Linked DNA regions of Homo sapiens: regions 1, 2, 3, 5, 6 and 7 are each linked to region 4. The links are contacts of gene promoters, found by promoter capture Hi-C in blood cells and fetal thymus (Javierre and others, 2016). All regions are on one chromosome and are shown on one strand. Each heading gives the region's core, a stretch centred on a gene start or on the middle of the fragment in contact. The rest is flanking DNA. Distances are from core to core; before and after follow the strand shown.

Region 1 (2,700 bases), core at 181-2,680, 760 kb after region 4:
TCACTCACCAGCAACCCGCACTGCCACTCGTACAGCTGCTTCCTGTTCCCTTGTGGTTTTTGGCTGTCAGTTTTCCCCTAAGAGCACAAAGTCATCAAATAAAAGCAAAAGTTAAGTGAGAGTTCTAGGTTTTTCATAAACATCCATATCAGAGGTCTTTTTTTTTCCCTCCTGGTGAAAAATTTTGGAAATGAATGAATACTTTTGTTAAAATGATGTAACTTTCTCTAAAGAAAAAGGAAATGTCAAGATTTATTCTACTCTGGAGGCTGTTCAGTTATTTACAGAGGATGACAGCCACCTACTGGCCATGATGACAAAGACATACACCAACTCTGTGGAGAGTCAGCTTTTCTTTTCTATAAAGAATTCTGTCCCTTTGCAGAATTTTCTTCATAGGTAAAAAGGACTCTTTCTCAGAAAGAGCTGAACCTTATATTGGAAGAAGCCCATTTCCTTCATTTTTTTTATCATAGAGAAGGAAAGTACTCCCAGCTTCAAGCAGGACATGTCCTTTGGGCAGTGGACAGCTATGTAGAGAGAGAAAGGGTAAGAATGTGTCCCTTGACTTCAGCCCCCTGACTCATCCCTCCTTTATGTATTGAGCTGCACTAGGATTCAGTACAGCCTGCCAATGTGGGTGTAGAACTGTAATGGACATCCATTAAAATCTCCTGTTTGAAGGTACATTAGCTCTTTCTTAATAGTAAGTTGCTAATTTTACAAATTCATTCCTTAGATCATGTCACTTACATTCATAATAAGGAGAACATTCTCTGTTATTTTCAATAATGACTCAACTTGCATCCCTTCTATTTTCACTCAGTAGTAAGAGAGAGAACAGAGATCTGTAAAGGGATCAGAAGATACAATTCTTGCCAAATGATACCCAGTAGAAGTATCAATTTGGGTAGAATTGGGGAAACATTAAAGTGATCTGTGAAATGGTGTATTTGAAGAAGTTAACCAGGAAGCATGTGTGAATTGCTAGGTTAGTAGGAAGAGGCTTCAACTTAGGACAGATTTCTCAATTCTTTGCTCAAGTTACAGACCCAACCTTTATATGGCTCTTTTGAAATGGAAGAGGAGAGAAATTGGGAAATTCAAAGTTATATTTTACAATATATTTGTTCTTTGCCTCTCTTTCATTAGCTACTGAGTGTGGGGGGCCCAGTTTAGGATCAGAAAGAAAACATTAACACTTTTGAATATACCTGGTTCTCTCTCCTCTGTCTCTTTGATGGTTTAACACCTTTCATATATTAAAAACCCTTTTATTCCTGACTACTTTTAAGCTTCTTATTTCTTTAATGTTATTTTTGTTTTTTGTTGCTTATCATTTCAGTGGGCAAAAATTGTATGATGTGGCTGCATATTGTCACCTTATCCTGAAAAATGTCTGTAACTATATCCTGAACATATCGAGAAGTTAATTTTTTATATATTCTAAAGTATTGGAGACCCAATGAAAGGAAGTGGCAGAGCTGGCAGAGAGGAGCCCTATTATAGCCTGCCTCATACAAGTCCCTGGACAGTTCCTCTGGTGAGGAACACATGGAAGCTTAGTCCCTGCCCTGACTCCATTGGAACAGATACAAGAGATCATGATACAGTACCACCTGGAGACAACGGGGCTTTGTGAGCTCACGAGGCCAAAGAATGTAACCACCCCTAGATTTCCCTTACCTGGCAAGCTCAGCACTGCAGAGGTCAAGGATGTTTTGCTGGGAACAGAAACACAGTAAATAGAGAGAGTCCTGCCCACAACACTACACCCAATGAGCGGGTAAAGAATACAGGAGCTCATTTGTGCCTCTTTTTAGGGACTTCCAACATTCTGATTCCGCTAGGAAGAGACTCCACCAGGCTCAGGACTCTCATTTGTTGAAAAAAGCAAAGCCCACATTATGAAACATGAAGACAGAGCCAGCAGCAGCTTTAGAATTTGGAAGGAGGAGAGAAGACTGGAAGGTCCTCAGAAAATGGAGTAGCAATGGAAGCACTGAGTCAACTGTTCAGAATATTCAAATCAGAGGGAGAGAAGATTGAAGTGGATGCTGAGAGCATACAGTGCTCCCGTGGAGACATGGCCAACACTGTCCCCTGCATGGGTGACACTGATACTACAGCAGCCTGTAGAGTATTGGAAGGGACAGGGTTACTTCAGTGTCAGCTGCAAACTCCTGTTTCCTCCCTAGTACCCATCAAGTTCTCACACTACAGGCAAACTTATTTATGGGGCCAATGCAATTCAAGGCATCTCTTAAATTCTAGTCATAATGCAGCCTCCTTAAAGGCAGTAAAAAATGAAACAATGCCTGAACAGAAGGGACACAGCAGGTATTTGAGTACATTTCAATTGGGCCAGAGACTTCCCAGCAGGACAGATATCAATAATGCATGTATTGAAGAATCACAACTTCTTCTCTTTTTTTTGTATTCTTTTGTTTGTTTTTTGTTTGTTTGTTTGAGATGGAGTCTTGCTCTGTCACCAGGCTGGAGTGCAGTCGTGCGATCTCAGCTCACTGCAATCTCCTCCTCCCAGGTTCAAGCGATTCTCCTGCCTCAGCCTCCCGAGTAAGTGGGATTACAAGCATGCACCACCACACCCAGCTAATTTTTGTATTTTTAGTAGAGACAGGGTTTCACCATATTGGCCATGAAGATCTTGATCTCCTGACCTCGTGATCCACCTGCCTC
Region 2 (2,868 bases), core at 278-2,777, 740 kb after region 4:
CTGGGTATATACCCAAAGGATTATAAATCATTCTACTATAAAGACACATGCACACATACGTTTATTGCAACACTGTTCACAATAGCAAAGGCTTGGAACCAACCCAAACGCCCATCAATGATAGACTGCATAAAGAAAATGTGGCACCTATACACCATGGAATACTATGCAGCCATAAAAAGGATGAGTTCATGTCTTTTACAGGGACATGGATGAAGCTGGAAACCATCATTCTCAGCAAATTAACACAGGAACAGAAAACCAAACACCACATGTTGTCACTCATAAATAGGAGTTGAACAATGAGAACACGTGGACGCAGGAAGGGAAACATCACACACTGGAGCCTGTTGGGGGTGGGGGCTAGGGGAAGGATAGCATTAGGAGAAATACCTAATGGAGACGACGAGTTGATGGGTGCAGCAAATCACCATGGCCCATGTATACCTATGTAACAAACCTGCACATTCTGCACATGTATCCCAGAACTTAAAGTATAATAATAAAAAACAAAACAAAACAAAACATAGGGCCCAGGCGCGGTGGCTCACGCCTGCAATCCCAGCATTTTGGGAGGCCGAGGTGGGCGGATCATGAGGTCAGGAGATCGAGACCATCCTGGCTAACGCAGTGAAACCCCTTCTCTACTAAAAATACAAAAAAATTAGCCGGGCGTAGTGGCGGGTTTCTGTAGTCCCAGCTACTTGGGAGGCTGAGGCAGGAGAATGGCGTGAACCCTGGAAGCGGAGCTTGCAGTGAGCCCAGATAGCGTCACTGCACTCCAGCCTGGGTGACAGAGTGAGACTCTGCCTCAAAAAATAAGTAAATAATAAATAAAAATACAAAATAAAATAAAAGATTGGTCAAAATCAGCCGAAAATACAACATGAACCAAGGATATACAGAGAGCAGGAGAGAGTTGTGTATAATCCAGGAATCAAAAGAGAGTTAAAATTATTGCAGAAATTCCCAATACAAAGCTTACACATTAGTTGTAAATAACAATAAAAAATTTAACATTGAAATTTCACTCTGTTTGCATGTATGTGTGATGTTGAAAAAAAGCACTTAATATCTCTGAGCCTCAGTTTCTTATAAATAGAAAGGATTAGAAATACTTACATAGTTGTTGTGATTCTTAAATGAACGCAGGCAGTTGAAAGCAGTTTGCATAGTATTCTCCATAGTGTAAGGATTTAACACATGGCAAGTATTTTTCTATTTTTCTTCACACAGTTGTAGATGAGAATATTATTTGTCTTTCTACAAAATTCATAAGAATTGTGTCCTACCATTCAGTAACTGACTTTCAATGGAGACAGCGTTAAAAAAAAAAAAAAAACAGTATTCTGTCATGAATTCTAGAAAGGTTAAAAATTTGTCGCTCCTCATTTCAAAGAAGTGTCCTATTTGCATTCAGTCAGGAAATGTTGGTTTGTATGAATACCTGAAAGAAAAGAAGCAGCATGTAGATTGAAATGCAGAAGACACATAATGCCTATTAACTGATTCTGGCACCTGGCACGTTCCTTTTCTGGCTCTCAGAATTCCAGCATACGCTCCCATATGAAGTTAGTCTCCTAAACTAAGTGAAATATACATAGTAGCCTTTGCTGGTTCTGAGACCTGGTCCACTTCCCCATTTCCTCTCTGCTTTTCTGGATCCCATTTTTCACTCCCATATCACATTAGATTCCTTTCTCTTCCTCTAGAAATTCCCACTGTGCTCTCCTCTTCACTCTTCATTAGCCTGCAGTGCCTATTCACACAGCTGATTTCTGTTCTCTTGTGGGGTTTGCCCATCACTTTCCCCTTATGAATACAAAACTGCAAATTAAAGCCGACCTTGAGTGAAAGTTCTAGTTTTTTCAGACACTCTTATATAACAGGCTGTTTTTCTTTTCTTAGGAATATTTCTGGAAAAAGAGGGAATGTCCCTTTTATAATGATGTAACAGTAGCTTTGCAAAGGGGAAATAAAAGGCAGGTTCTGTGGAGTCTTAATTCGGAAAAAAGAGTAGGGCTGGTGGGAGCAGGAGAAAGCAAAAAGAGGAAGCAGGTAGAAAACAAGCTTGCTTTTCTTTATAGTCTGGGACACACAGTCCTCCTGCTCAAATCATTCATAATATTTCTGTACCCAGCTATCAGTAGACATCTGCAAGTTAGCTCACTGCAACCTTTGTGTTATCAATACCACACAAAGCCCTCTTCAACAGACAGCATAGATTTTATCCTATAAAATCTCCAGCAAGCCTTTCTCTCCTGGCAGTCAGCTTCTCTTCCACTGGCTGCCTGTTGTCTCTCTGGCAACATATTTTCCTAATAAATTTTCTGCCTTCCTTTACCTACAACTGTCTTGGTAAATCCTTTGAGCCCCATGCCACCAGCACTCAGTCTTCCACAATAGGCTCCATTTTACTCTGAGGCTGTTAAAACATTTACAGGAAAAGAGAGCCACCGATGACCAAAATGCACCAAGACAGCGGCCAAGTCTGTGAGGAGCAGCTTTTCTGCTTATGCAGAAGTGTGTCCCTGGCAGGAGATTTCATTTCAGAGTTAAAAAGAGGCTCTTTCCTGTCAGGAACTGACCCCAGTATGGGAATAAGCACTTTTTCTTAATGTTTGTATCTTAGAGAAAATACTCCCAGCCTCAGGCACATTTTAACTTTTTTTGGCAATGGATGGCTATGTGGGGAAAAAAGGGTCAGGATGTGTTCCTTACCTCCAGCCTGGCCAGCCTCCAAGGGCCTCCTGTTCCATCCCTCCCTCTATGTATTCTGTTATATAAGGAATCAGTACAGCCAGCCAATCTGGGTGCAGAACTCCAATGGAAATCAGGAAAAAAAATCTCATTTGAAGGCACATTAGC
Region 3 (2,777 bases), core at 40-2,539, 690 kb after region 4:
TCTAGGGGAAACTTAAAAAACATTCTTGTTCTTCAGACAGGAAGAAAAGAAAGATTCTCCCAATTTGGTGCAGAACTTTGAAGGTCACCTATTTATGGCAGCCCATGGCTCTGGGCTAGGCCACAGCTAAAGCTGCAGAGAGAACTGCAGAATATCATCCTCAGTGTCACTAGGGAAGAGGTTGGCCGGGTCATTGGTGGGATACAGCTGGCTAGGCCATTTGAGTCTTTACCCACCTGTCTCAGCACTTTCTTGTTGTGAGATTCTTACATAACCAGATTAGGGTTTTCAGTTTTTGTACTTATCTCAACTTTATTTCTACTTTGTTCACTTTCTCTTCTATTTATGGGTCTCAGATAATGTCATGACCTCAACACTTCTTTTGTATTATGACAATGGAAATTAAACACACTCAGAAAATGGCAAAACTCTCAATCTAATAGGAAATACCCATCCAAATGAGGCTCAATGTTGAAATAACAACCTATCTGAGTCTCAATCTATGTCTCTTTTAAAATTCTAATAAGTATACTTAGAGGTTTGATCTTGGACATTTTTACTTCTTAAACTGCACTGAAATACATGTTTCCTCACCTCTCTGCATTTCTCTTTTAAGTGGCTAATACACTAGGTTTGATTTCTTCCACCTTTCTTTACAAGAGCCACAGCTTATAATCTGTAGATAACGGTGGCATAAAACTCGAAAACCCAGGGTTAAGTCATCCAGTTGTCTTTGTTCTGTCACTAAAAATGTCTTTACTGCATATATGTGACAGACAATAGGCTTGGCAATTTAGATTAACAGATAAGTAATACAGGATGATGACTACCCTCCATGGATTCAAAGAATGGCATTTAAGACATGATTGTGATTAATTAAACACTAGCATGCTCAGTGCAGCCAAGAGGAAGAACTGAAAGCTAATGAAGAGGGAAATTGGGAGGCAGTAGAAACTGCCACTTTGTGACAACATCTGTGGCTCCTGGGAGCTTAAACAACATCAGATTTTCCTTTCCTCTTCTGCAAAATTGAGACAATTTTAATAGTTGTCACATAGGAAACTGCAAAGATGAAATAAAATAAAGTTTGCAAATTACTGGCTGAGAATCTGAACATGGTAAATGATAGTTACCTTTAATTTCAATGTAATAAATAACATAATCCTGTATAGTCCACATTTAACCAAATCCAGACAAGAGAAGCTTTGATTGCAGCTCCCCTGACATTCCTGAGGTCTAACACGTTGATGTCCCTCAAATTGAAACTCTAGGAAAGGGGACTGTCTGTAAAACTGTGAAGGAGCAGAGCCCAGGTTCCCATTGTCAGAGTAGTGCCTTGCACAGAGGAAAAATTGTACAGCCCCCATGAAGCTTGTTCCAGGGAACCAGTGTCTCAGCAAGTTGCGATAGAAAATGGCTGCTCTGTGAATAGTATAAATAAATAAAATAATCCCTTTACTCAGATTCAGTTAGTTTCAAATCACCATTGATGATTATTTTTAGGCCCAAGTAAAACATATTTTGTAAACCATTTTCCTAGCCTTTACAACTCTCTAACTCAACCCTAAAAAAAAAAAGGTGATTTGAAACTAACTGAATATAGTATTATATAAAGTTACCTATAGATATATACAGAATATACACTTACATATTTATATATACATATTTAAATACAAATAAATAAGTAAATATTGTAATGTATTTAATAACATACAATATATGTTATATGCTATATTGTATATGTGTATATATAACATATCGTATATATGTTATTCTATATAAAGTATATATTGAAGTATATATATTAAAATATATAAATGTATACATATTTTTACACATTATATTTACATATGGATTTTTAAATGTACAAAAACATATATAAGATATATAAATATATATTCTTTTTTTTTTGACAAAAGTCTCACTCTTTTGTTCAGGCTGGACTGCAGTGCTGCTGTCATACCTCACTACATCCTCGAACTCCTGGGCCCAAGTGATCCTCCCACCTTGGCCTCCCAAATAGCTGAGACTATAGGTGTGCACTACCACACCTGGCTAATTTTTTATTTTTTGGTAGAGATGGTGTCTCCTTCTGTTGACCAGGCTGGTAAATCCTGGCCTCAAGCAATCTTCCTGCCTTGGCCTTCCAAAGTACTGGCATTATAGACCTGAGCCACCACGCCAGGCCTATATATTCTTTATGTATATTTAAATACATATGCTTAAATTATGTATACTTATATATTTAATAATATACAAATTTAATATATTTTAATATGTTAAGTATAATATAATAAGCATATATTAAATTATATGAGATTGTAAAAGTATATAATACTTAAAGCTGTATATACTTAAGTATACATAATTATATTTACACATATTAATTACAAAATACATAATCTAAAAATGTAATGTATATTAATATAAGTATATAAACTTATTTTATGTTACATAAAATTTAAGTATATACAAGCATATATATACATATATATATTTCTGGAGGGAGGGGGATTGGAAATGGGACTACCTTGATTTTCAGCCATGGAAAAATCACAATACTTTGCTGATTCTGATGGCTGCCACACTCTCCCTTCCCCCCTACTTACTGGAGGATCCCATTCTTTCATTTCTGTATGACATTAGTTTCCTCCCTCCCCAGCGTAGAAATCCCAGGGTGCTCTCCTCATTCACTCACCATTAACCTGCACTGCCATTCATACAGCTGCTTCCTGTTCCATTGTAATTTCTGGCTGTCAATTTTCCCATAAGAGTAC
Region 4 (2,812 bases), core at 67-2,566:
CACTTCCATGGTGGTGGCACTTCCACTGCCTTTAAAAGAAAGAGCTTTTTTTAATTCTACAGGGATTTGGGGGATGAGGAGTCAGAGCTAAGGTATCCTAAAAAAAACATGTGAAGACTCTCATTTTGCAATACACAAGCAATTGCCCTCCTGTTAAGACTTTGTCTTCCTCAGCACTCCGAACCAAAATGATTCTGTAAACAAAAATTGTTCACTTTTAGGAGAGGTCCACTTATGCAGTTCCTCACCAAAGTTTTTAGGCAACAAATCCATAACTTGCGGTTCTCTTCCTATCCAATGTAGCATCCGCTGAAATGTTTTAAATATTTTAAGTAATAAATGTTGATTCAAACTCACCTAGGAAGATTAGGAAGGGGAAAAAAAGCACTTGGCATTTAAATCTTCAGAAGAGAATTTAATGACAGGTTCAGCCTGTTTAATGACAAGCCCAGCACCACACCCCTCTCTTATGATGTTTCATTATTACTGCATAAATTTCCTTTATTACTCATGATAAATAAAAATAAGATACCTGACAAAGTGGGTTTAAATAGGTAAGAGTGCAAACAAAGATTTACTGTACAAATATGATGAAACTGGGATCTCAGATTCTTAAAGTATAATTTTTTTTTGTCTTATGTGTGCCAGGTTGCCACTCTCAATCTCGAACTAGTTTTTTTCTCTTTTAAGGGTTGTATCCATAATGCAAAAATGGAAAGAATTAAAAAGCACACGCAAAACATGATTCTCGGGATTTTTCTCTATTTTTATGGTTGACTAATTCAAACAGAAAGACACATCCAAGAGAAAATTGCTAAGTTTGATACAAGTTATGAAACTTGTGAAGCCCAAGTACTGCCTGGGGATGAATTTAACTTGTATGACAGGTGCAGAGCTGTCGCTTTCAGACATCTTAAGAAACACGGAGTTATTTTGAATGACTTTCTCTCGGTCACAAGGGAGCCACCAACGTCTCCACAGTGAAACCAACTGGCTGGCTGAAGGAACAGAAATCCTCTGCTCCGCCTACTGGGGATTAGGAGCTGAGGGCAGTGGTGAACATTCCCAAAATATTAGCCTTGGCTTTACTGGACATCCAGCGAGCAGTGCAGCCAGCATTCCTGGCGGCTCCCTGGCCCAGTCTCTGGCGCATGCGTCCTAGCATCTTTGGGCAGGCTTCCCCGCCCTCGTGACGCGTCGGCCCGGGCCTGGCCTCCCGGCGATCACAGCGGACAGGGGGCGGAGCCTAAGGGGGTGGGGAGACGCCGGCCCCTTGGCCCAGCTGAAAACGGAATTCTTTGCCGGCTGGCTCCCCACTCTGCCAGAGCGAGGCGGGGCAGTGAGGACTCCGCGACGCGTCCGCACCCTGCGGCCAGAGCGGCTTTGAGCTCGGCTGCGTCCGCGCTAGGCGCTTTTTCCCAGAAGCAATCCAGGCGCGCCCGCTGGTTCTTGAGCGCCAGGAAAAGCCCGGAGCTAACGACCGGCCGCTCGGCCACTGCACGGGGCCCCAAGCCGCAGAAGGACGACGGGAGGGTAATGAAGCTGAGCCCAGGTCTCCTAGGAAGGAGAGAGTGCGCCGGAGCAGCGTGGGAAAGAAGGGAAGAGTGTCGTTAAGTTTACGGCCAACGGTGGATTATCCGGGCCGCTGCGCGTCTGGGGGCTGCGGAATGCGCGAGGAGAACAAGGGCATGCCCAGTGGGGGCGGCAGCGATGAGGGTCTGGCCAGCGCCGCGGCGCGGGGACTAGTGGAGAAGGTGCGACAGCTCCTGGAAGCCGGCGCGGATCCCAACGGAGTCAACCGTTTCGGGAGGCGCGCGATCCAGGTAGCTGGGGCCCCAGGGCCTCGCCGGCAGGGGGCGCGCGAACGCGGGGCGCGGCCTCGGCGGATCGGGGCTGGAACCTAGATCGCCGATGTAGATTTGTACAGGAGTCTCCGTTGGCCGGAGGTGTGCATTCCACGCGTAAAACAGGCTTTTACCCAGCAAAAATCCTAAAGAGAGACATTGAAAAACCCACTGTTTAAGCTTTTTTTAGTGGTTTTTGTTCTGCCATCTCATGATCAGAGATGCAAGGAATAGACTGAATTGGGGAGAAAAGGAGAAAAGGAAAGCTTATTTAGGGAAGAAGATTATCTTGTCTGTCTGCTTTCAACGATAAAGATAAGTAAAGTATAAGTTACGCATTCTAGATTGGATTTAAGGAATTCTACAAAATCATAGTACATGGAAAAAATCAATGTAAACTTCTAAGCTACTATATGAAATCTGTTGTATTGTTTTCTCATAGAGGTTAATTGAGAATGAGACGGGATTCCTCAACCACAGTACTTAGTTCCTTTTATGTTAGCAGTGTCTTATGAGTGATGCATAAGAGAAAAAATATATAGTTCTATAGGTTTCTCATTCTTTAATTATCATACTCAGTGCCCAGATTACAAAAATATTCCTGCAGCAACTGTTAGGTCCTTTTTGAATGGCAAAGGATCTTCATAAATAATGCATCTTTATCTTCATTGTTAAAATACACTTATTCAATGTTTAAGTACGAATCCTGCTTTAATTAGTACTGATATTTTTTATTTCTTTTACAATCTCGGACAACTCTTTTGTACTTTACCGTTGGCTAGTGGTCATATTCAGTACTCACCTCACTATCACCCTCTAAAACTAAGCTAATATTAAGGGATCTTGTTAATAGTATAGATTTTAAAGAAGTGTTCATTTCTTTTGAATTCTTAGAATAATGGTATAACAAATGAGGGATTTTTAAAGGAGCAAAAATATTGTAAAGTGCATCTTAAAAACTTAAAATT
Region 5 (2,860 bases), core at 318-2,817, 670 kb after region 4:
GCTAAATACACTTCCCTAGAAGCATCCCCATCTGGTCAGAGATGGCCTTTACTACGATGGCCATCCTTGTCCAGCCTTACTTAGGTTTCAGTATTTTTGCACAATTAGCATCCCTGGTGTACGAAGAATGTGATAAATGAGCTCTCTGAGCAGTCATCTACACTCTCTCTGAAGAGTATTTGGATTTTATTTATCCACATTAATAAAGAGAGCCCATTTGTTTGAAAGAAAGAAGTAGGATTTCAAACGCATTTTCCATAAGTTTTAGATGTTCTCAATTGTCTGGCAATAGGAGAAATGTAAAGGAAAATAACAGTTATATGTAAACAAAATCGAGAAAGTTGCATCATAGGGAATATAGCTAACATCTACATAAAGGGTTTATATATACTTTTAAGAGGGGCGTATAAAAGCATAATTCATAAGAACAATAAAAACTACAATTAATGCCATAAAATGAAATCTAAATAGAATTAAGAACAGCAAGTGAAGCAAATGGAAAGGCATTATAGCCCACTAGTACTCAAAAACTATTAAACAATTATTCTTGAAATTTTAGATTATTAAATAAGCAGTAAGACAATATAGCCTATGAAATAAAGTATTAATTTTATATGCTTTGTGCCATTATATCCATTCCCTGAAATCAATCCTAAATAAAAGTTTGTAAAAAGGTTACAAAATTATATCCGATAATACAAACACACATTTTTCTCCAGGTACTACCTTCTTGCTCTTCTTCCACTCACAGATAAACTTCTAAAAGAAGTTTCCATCCACTGTGTCTCCAACCTCTCCTGCTATTTACTCTAGTCAATATATTCCAATCTGGATTTTGCCAAATTAATTCTGGCAAACCAGTCCTTTCTTTTCCTAAATGTAAAACGTCATGTTTTAAACACATTTCTTCCCTTAAACACCCTCTTATCACAATTTTCTCCTGGTTGTCCTCCTATTTTGCTCCTGGATGTCCTCCTATCATTTCATTCACATGCCCTTTTCAGGTTCCTCACTCTGTTCACTACATTAAGATGTAAAGGTCCTCAAGATCCAGGTTTTGGTCTTCTGATTCACTACTCAATTTCTACCAGACCTCATCCATCCTTGGGCCTTCAGGAAAAAGGTATAGCCCAGCTCCCAAATGAACATCTCTAGCCATGCACTCTAAATCCCAGAACTGTGTATCCAATTTTCAAGGCTTAAAGTCTTCCAGTTTCTGATGACAAAAACCACTTTTCTTTTGCCTATGGTTTGAGTTTATGATAGAGTTGAAATTAATTAATTGGTTAATAGTTTTATTTCTCCCTCAGCAAAAAGTTTCAAGAGGGCTGAAGCTGTGTTTCCTTTATTCACTTTTCTATCCTGAAAAGTCACATATCAAGTGTTTCATACAGTGTGAATGGAATGAATGAACTGAACTTCACTTGAGGTTGCAAAACCAACCTTGGCATTGATTTATTGAGTAAGGCCAGGTATGGTGGCTCATGCCAGTAATCCCAGCAGTGTGGGAGGCTGAGGTGGGAGGATTGTTGAGGCTAGGAGTTTGAGGCTGTAGTGAGCTATGAACCTGCCACTGCACTCCAGCTTAGTGACAGAGCAAGACCTTGTGTTTGTTTTTTTTAAATAAACAAATGCAAAATGATCTGAAAGTAAAACTCGAAATAATAAAGAGAATAATTTTCAAAATATAAAGTGAGGGGCCAGGCATGGTGGCTCACGCCTGTAATCCCAGCACTTTGGGAGGCTGAGGCAGGCGGATCACAAGGTCAGGAGTTTGAGAGCAGACTGGCCAGCATGGTGAAACTCTATCTCTACTAAAAATACAAAAAATTAGCTGGGCATGGTGGCGCGCACCTGTAGTCCCAGCTACTCGGGACGCTAAGGCAGGAGAATTGCTTGACCCTGGGAGGCGGAGGTTGCAGTGAGCCGAGATCGCACCACTGTACTCCAGCCTGGGTGACAGAGCGAGACTCCGTCAAAACAAAACAAAACAAAACAAACAAACAAAATATACATAAAGTGAACACTTTTTAATGTAATTAGCACAGTGTTAAAAGTGAACATTTCATACAAGCAAAAATACTGAATACAATAAATGTAGTAGAATCAATAATTAAGTACATGGGTAAATTAATAATATCATCCATGGTGAGCTAATGCCCCTAAGAACTGGATGCTTTATCATACAGTTGCTTGACATTACCAACAAGTATTGTGACAAATTTGATTCAATCATTTCATTATGCAGGCAGAAAAGATAGTCTTTTAAAATAACTAAACATATGGGAATATAATGAAGAGTGTCTATAGTAATCATTTCATGAAGACACAAGTCTGTTCCTAAGCTATTAATCTTACTTGCAAGTTTGATGAAAAAAAGAAGGATCTCATGATTTCTTGCTCCAACTTCCCATGTACAGAGGCTCTCTTCTTTCTTTTCCAGATAGAGACTGATTCCTTGGAAGTAGCTCTTCACAGCATTAGGGAGTTGTCATGGCCTGAGAGAGCCCTTCCACCCCTAACTCATTCAACAAGCAGGGCTCCAGGACTTCCCAATGCTGATAAAAATTCAGTGAATAATTTCTCCAGGCCAGTTTCATTCCAACCAACCTCTTGTGTTGAATAAGGTGACAATCTGCTGGAGCACCTTGTGGAGGACAGTGGTAGTCTAAGCCTTCTGAATTTTGCTGCCATCCCTTGGAAACAATAGAAAACATTCAAAACAGATGAACTGCCCATCAACAGGGCACTGGTTAAATAACTTATGATGTAACAACTCAGAAGGCAACAACAGAATTGTTTAAAAATATAAATAAGCCCTCTACACTAATTCAGGAAGATCTTGAAGTGAAAAAAAAAG
Region 6 (2,988 bases), core at 214-2,713, 620 kb after region 4:
AGAACCATTCTTGTATTTCTTCATGGTTTTTGTATTTCTTCATGGAACCATGAAGAAATACAAAATGTGAACAGGCCAATAACAAGTAATGAGACAGAAGCCATACTAAAAAGTATCCCAGAAAAGAACTCAGGATCTGATGGCTTCACTGATGAATTTTGCCAAATATTTAAAAAACTAATACCAATCCAACTCAAATTATTAAAAAAATAGAGGTGGACAGAATCTTTCCAAATGTATTCTATGAGGCCAGTGTTTTTTCTGATTGAATCTCCCATTATATTTTAATCACATATAAAACCAGAGAAAGACACATTAAAAAGAAAGAAAACTGTAGGCCAATATCTCTGATGAACATTGATGCAGAAATCCTCAACAACAAATTAGCAAACTGAATTCAAGAACACATTAAAACAATCATTCATCATGACCAAGTGGAATTTGTCCTAGAGATTCAAGTGTGGTTAGGTATGTGCAGATCAATGGGTTTAATGTTGTCCAATGAACATAATGTCCTCCAGCTCCATCCATGTTCTTGCAAATGACAGGATCTCATTCTTTTTTATGGCTAAGTAGTACTCCATTGTGTATAAGTGCCATATTTTCTTTATCCATTCATCTGTTAGACACCTAAGTTGCTTCCAAATCTTAGCTATTGTGAATAGTGCTGCAATAAACATGGGAGTGTAAATATTTTGTTGACATACTGATTTCATTTCCTTTGGATAAATACCCAGTAGTGGGATTGCTGGATCATATGGGGGAAAATGGAGATGGCTAACGGGCACAAAAATATAGTTAGAAAAAATGAATATGATTTAGTATTCGATAGCACAATAGGATGACTACTGTTAATGATAATTTATTATATATTATAAAATAACTAAAATAGTATAAATGGGATGTATGTAGCAGAGAGAAATGATAAATGTTTGAAGCATTGGATACTCCATTCACCCTGCTGTGATTATTATGAATTGTCTGCCTATATAAAAATATTTCACTTATTCCATAAACACAGACGCCTCTTATGTACCCACAAAAATCTATTTTCAAAAAAGTTGCTCTAAGAATATAGTTATCAAGTTAAGTAAAATGTCAATAGCCTTTTAATTTAATTTTTAATTGTTTTATCATTCTTTGCAATAATAAAACATTAACTTTATACTTTTTAATTTAATGTATAGAATAGAGATATACATAGGATATGTAAATAGATACACAGTGTATATGTGATTAAAATATAATGGGAGATTCAATCAGAAAAAAGTTTCTAAAAAGGCTCTGGGGTAAAAGAGGAAGGAAACAATAATGAAAAAAATGTGGTGAGAAAAACAGCTGAAAACCCATGTAAAGAGTGCATAAAGAAAGCAAAAAGAGAAGTAGAAAGTAACACAGGGGCATTTGGAAAATGTAAACGAGTATGTTCCCTATTTAAGGCTAGGCACAAAGCAAGGTCTTCAGAGAACCTGGAGCCTAAGGTTTAGGCTCACCCATTTCAACCAGTCTAGCAGCATCTGCAACATCTACAATGGCCTTGACCTTTGCTTTACTGGTGGCCCTCCTGGTGCTCAGCTGCAAGTCAAGCTGCTCTGTGGGCTGTGATCTGCCTCAAACCCACAGCCTGGGTAGCAGGAGGACCTTGATGCTCCTGGCACAGATGAGGAGAATCTCTCTTTTCTCCTGCTTGAAGGACAGACATGACTTTGGATTTCCCCAGGAGGAGTTTGGCAACCAGTTCCAAAAGGCTGAAACCATCCCTGTCCTCCATGAGATGATCCAGCAGATCTTCAATCTCTTCAGCACAAAGGACTCATCTGCTGCTTGGGATGAGACCCTCCTAGACAAATTCTACACTGAACTCTACCAGCAGCTGAATGACCTGGAAGCCTGTGTGATACAGGGGGTGGGGGTGACAGAGACTCCCCTGATGAAGGAGGACTCCATTCTGGCTGTGAGGAAATACTTCCAAAGAATCACTCTCTATCTGAAAGAGAAGAAATACAGCCCTTGTGCCTGGGAGGTTGTCAGAGCAGAAATCATGAGATCTTTTTCTTTGTCAACAAACTTGCAAGAAAGTTTAAGAAGTAAGGAATGAAAACTGGTTCAACATGGAAATGATTTTCATTGATTCGTATGCCAGCTCACCTTTTTATGATCTGCCATTTCAAAGACTCATGTTTCTGCTATGACCATGACACGATTTAAATCTTTTCAAATGTTTTTAGGAGTATTAATCAACATTGTATTCAGCTCTTAAGGCACTAGTCCCTTACAGAGGACCATGCTGACTGATCCATTATCTATTTAAATATTTTTAAAATATTATTTATTTAACTATTTATAAAACAACTTATTTTTGTTCATATTATGTCATGTGCACCTTTGCACAGTGGTTAATGTAATAAAATATGTTCTTTGTATTTGGTAAATTTATTTTGTGTTGTTCATTGAACTTTTGCTATGGAAACTTTTGTACTTGTTTATTCTTTAAAATGAAATTCCAAGCCTAATTGTGCAACCTGATTACAGAATAACTGGTACACTTCATTTATCCATCAATATTATATTCAAGATATAAGTAAAAATAAACTTTCTGTAAACCAGGTTGTATGTTGTACTCAAGATAACAAGGTGAACCTAACAAATACAATTCTGCTCTCTTGTGTATTTGATTTTTGTATGAAAAAAACTAAAAATGGTAATCATACTTAATTATCAGTTATGGTAAATGGTATGAAGAGAAGAAGGAACAACCGATGATTTCTCTCTGCAGAAGGTAGATTGAGGCATGTGAGGAAATAAAAATAAGACAGAGACATTCTCTTTAAATTGACTAGTATACATCTATTAGAAAATGTCCATTGCCAGTTAGATATATAAGTTTGCAATTTGCAAGGAATGCGATTGCTGGGGGTTTATATGTGATAAGAGAAAGCCAAGAAATGAAGGTCATGGTGTTGGGAGAGAGTGTAGAGAGAGAAAAAG
Region 7 (2,983 bases), core at 33-2,532, 610 kb after region 4:
AGTGAGCAGGCAGCGCTGGAGATGAGCATGATGACTCCCGCCATTACCAGGGAGGTGTAGGCCACTGTGATTTCAGAGATTCACTAGCCGGCCTCGAAGGGGCGCGGGCCCGCTGCGCAAAGAGCGCAAAGCTCCCAGCGCTGCGCACCACGGCCGCAGCAAGGCGCCAGAATGGGTTTTCCTGATGCCCAGGATTTGGGAACCGCGGGTTTGAGTTTCGGGGCGTCCCGCAGCCCCAGGGAAACGTCGTCGCGGCTTATCGCGCCAACTTTGTGCAGCTTCGACCTGAGTAAAAAAATCTCTTTTGCTGCTCAGGAGGCAGCTCCGCCGTGGTCTCCCTTGAGACATCTTCCTCAGGTAGCCAGCAGGGCACCTTTTATTTTCGGGATTTTCCCCTGGGTTTGGGGCTTTTATTTCCCATAGAGACTTCAGCGAGACTTGTTTTTACAGAGGGACCCGTTGATTCCGGGACTTGAGGGCTCGAGATCGCACGGGTTTAATCTTGGGGATTCCGTTTGTGTGGGGGCGCAGGGCGGGGACGTCTTGGGGAAGGGGACACGCTGGACCCTGGGGCGAGCGGACGGGTCCTGGGAGCGCCCGGGGCTGGGGACGCCGCGCACCGGGCCAGGAGCAGAGAGGCGCCCGTGCCTGCCCCAGGGTGTGCCAGGAGCTAAGCTTTCAGCTTCAGACGCCAGTGTCGCTGAAACCATAATTCAGGTATGTTAAAACTCAACAGCATTATTTTAAATACTTTATACCAAAACAAGAATGTTGTGATCTTACTTCCCTAGCTTTAAAGGAAGCAAACTCAGCAATGCTTTCAAGATCCCTACTTTGTTTTATCTGGGAGAAGTGCCATGTCTGACATTTCCAGTGACTCAGTGACACTGAGATAATTTTATTTAACTTTGGTTTACTGAAAGCCCTTCCTCAAGACCCCACCTTGACTTGTGTTGCTGAAAAGAGAAATGAGCAGTGTTGCCTACAAAGAGTAGAGGAGCAGGTCAGAACTTTTTATTTTCTAGGGTAAGAATTTTATAGCCTGAGTGGAGTTTGCCATAATTTGTTACACTGGCCCCTCTCCTTTGTAAGACCCTCAGGGTCATCTTACATTTCCTGCCTTTACTTAATTAAAATTTTGATATTTGCCTCATCATGGATGTTTAGGCATTAATTTCCAATTTTAATATTGTATTAAAATAGTATTTGAGTTGATAATTTAAGTATATATTTTAAATATATAAAGGATATATATTTTTATATTGATCTATTTTATATGTGTGTTTCTGTACATTTAAATACTTACGTATACATATTTATATATTTCAGCATATACTTTATATAAAATTATAACATATGTATATATTTATATATTTAAATACCCATAATATATAAAATGTAAGTATATATTCTACATATACTTACATATATATATAGATATAGAGTTATAAACTAAAACTAAAAATAAAATACTAAGCCACCCATTGGCTGAACATGCCCCCTTTTGGCCAATGGAACCCCTAAAAACCTTAACTGAATTCTCAACCATGATGGGAAGCAGGATGGACACGCCTCATTATATCCCCCTCCGTTTTGGAGTATGGACACAAACTGGCCAGCATTGATGTTATAAGAGAGATAATAAGACAAAACAGACTTTGTGGCAATAAGATACCAAATTATAAGCAAGACCTAAGGCCATGCAAGGCGAGAGTTATGTACTGCAAACCATAAAATCTCCTTAAATGGATTTTTAAAAATTAACCCAGTAAAATGTGGCTCACTTTCTAACCTAACTCTCATATAATACCATATGGCAGATTGCAGACCCATTTATCTTAATTTAAGCATTCTTTTCTAATGACTTCAAGTCTTTAGACAAAGCTTAACTGTTTCAACCAATTGCCAGCTAAAGAATCCCTGAAACCCACCTGTGACTTTTAAATCCCCACTTTGAGATGTCTTGCCTTTTCTGGCCAAACCACTGTATACCTTCCATGTATTGATTTATGATTTTACCTGCAATTCGTATCTCCCTGAAATGTCTAAAACCAAATTATAACCCAACCACCTTGGGTGCACTTTTTCAGGACCTCTTAAAACTGTTTCTCCAGGATATGGTCACTCATATTGGCTCAGAATAAACTTCTTTAAAATATTTTCCAGTCTTACAGACAATTTCCTCTCCTAGAGTTTCCATTTAGGAGGCGCCAATGTGCAAGACCCTGAGAGTGTCAGGGGAGCTGCAATCAAAGCTTTTCTTGGATGGACTTGGTTGAATATGGACTATACAGATTATAAATACATGGTTGTATGTATATATATATTTTTTCTATATAGTTCACAAATGCAAACTATATAGATTATACTAAAGGTTACTATCTGTATTAGTCTGTTCTCATGCTGCTACTAAAGACATACCCAAGACTGAGTAATTTATAAAGGAAAGAGGTTTAATTGACTCACAGTTCCACATGGCTGGGGAGGCCTCACAATCATGGCGGAAGGTGAATGAGGAGCAAAGTCATGTCTTACATGGTGGCAGGCAAGAGAGAGCTTGTGCAGGGAGGAGAACCCCCATTTATAAAACCATTGGATCTTGTGAGACTTATTCGCTACCACGAGAACAATATGGGAGAAACTGCCCCCATGATTCAATTATCTCCACCTGGCCCCACTATTGACATGTGGGAATTATTACAATTCAAGGTGAGATTTGGGTGGAGACACAGCCAAACCACATCACTATAATTTATCATGTTCAGATTCTCAGCCAGTAATTTCCAAACTTTATTTCATTTAATCTTTACAGTTTCTAATATGACAACTACTAAAATATTCTGAATTTTTCAGAAGAGGAAATGAAAATCTGATGTTTAACTTGCTAAGAGTCACAGATTTTGTCAGAAAGTGGAGCTTTCTACTGCCTCCAACTCCCCTCTTGATTTGCTCTCAGTACTTCCTCTTGGCAGCACTGAGAATG

Evidence for each region. Contacts are between HindIII fragments. The CHiCAGO score rates a contact against its expected background, and 5 or more counts as called.
Region 1: a contact is called between a fragment that was not itself captured here and the fragment with the promoter of CDKN2B in region 4, in 2 of 17 cell types (fetal thymus and total CD4 T cells). The highest score is 7.7, in fetal thymus.
Region 2: a contact is called between a fragment that was not itself captured here and the fragment with the promoter of CDKN2B in region 4, in 1 of 17 cell types (M2 macrophages). The highest score is 7.3, in M2 macrophages.
Region 3: a contact is called between a fragment that was not itself captured here and the fragment with the promoter of CDKN2B in region 4, in 8 of 17 cell types (activated CD4 T cells, naive CD8 T cells, total CD8 T cells and 5 more). The highest score is 10.3, in activated CD4 T cells.
Region 5: a fragment that was not itself captured here is called in contact with the fragment with the promoter of CDKN2B in region 4 in 2 of 17 cell types (activated CD4 T cells and total B cells); the score reaches 7.3 in activated CD4 T cells.
Region 6: the fragment with the promoter of IFNA2 here is called in contact with the fragment with the promoter of CDKN2B in region 4 in 9 of 17 cell types (total CD4 T cells, activated CD4 T cells, naive CD8 T cells and 6 more); the score reaches 15.7 in total CD4 T cells.
Region 7: a contact is called between a fragment that was not itself captured here and the fragment with the promoter of CDKN2B in region 4, in 1 of 17 cell types (total B cells). The highest score is 5.1, in total B cells.

What each region holds. Positions count from the first base shown.
Region 1 is chr9:21,250,786-21,253,485 of GRCh38, reverse strand. No RefSeq gene overlaps it. Among named protein-coding and RNA genes, the nearest start is that of IFNA14, 12 kb to the right of the region's middle. The HindIII fragment of the contact is 266 bases long and covers 1,298-1,563 here.
Region 2 is chr9:21,267,211-21,270,078 of GRCh38, reverse strand. LOC107987053 (a long non-coding RNA gene) reads right to left here and starts at 2,490. Exons shown (of 3, transcript XR_001746634.2): 1 at 2,345-2,490; 2 at 1,123-1,447. The HindIII fragment of the contact is 1,090 bases long and covers 983-2,072 here.
Region 3 is chr9:21,318,717-21,321,493 of GRCh38, reverse strand. All of the region lies in intron 2 of LOC107987053 (a long non-coding RNA gene), which reads right to left. It also overlaps the pseudogene IFNA20P. Among named protein-coding and RNA genes, the nearest start is that of IFNA5, 15 kb to the right of the region's middle. The HindIII fragment of the contact is 168 bases long and covers 1,206-1,373 here.
Region 4 is chr9:22,007,809-22,010,620 of GRCh38, reverse strand. CDKN2B (cyclin dependent kinase inhibitor 2B) reads left to right here and starts at 1,316. Exons shown (of 2, transcript NM_004936.4): 1 at 1,316-1,823. The coding sequence starts at 1,668. All of the region lies in intron 1 of CDKN2B-AS1 (CDKN2B and CDKN2A antisense cis and trans regulatory RNA 1), which reads right to left. RefSeq lists a silencer at 1,775-1,974. The HindIII fragment of the contact is 2,577 bases long and covers 1-2,026 here.
Region 5 is chr9:21,336,457-21,339,316 of GRCh38, reverse strand. LOC107987053 (a long non-coding RNA gene) reads right to left here. Exons shown (of 3, transcript XR_001746634.2): 3 at 2,016-2,696. Among named protein-coding and RNA genes, the nearest start is that of KLHL9, 2.5 kb to the right of the region's middle. The HindIII fragment of the contact is 4,111 bases long and covers 1-2,860 here.
Region 6 is chr9:21,383,873-21,386,860 of GRCh38, reverse strand. It overlaps IFNA2 (interferon alpha 2), which reads left to right and starts at 1,463. Exons shown (of 1, transcript NM_000605.4): 1 at 1,463-2,606. The coding sequence starts at 1,532. The coding sequence ends at 2,098. The HindIII fragment of the contact is 9,842 bases long and covers 1-2,988 here.
Region 7 is chr9:21,400,165-21,403,147 of GRCh38, reverse strand. No RefSeq gene overlaps it. Among named protein-coding and RNA genes, the nearest start is that of IFNA8, 7.5 kb to the left of the region's middle. The HindIII fragment of the contact is 1,209 bases long and covers 678-1,886 here.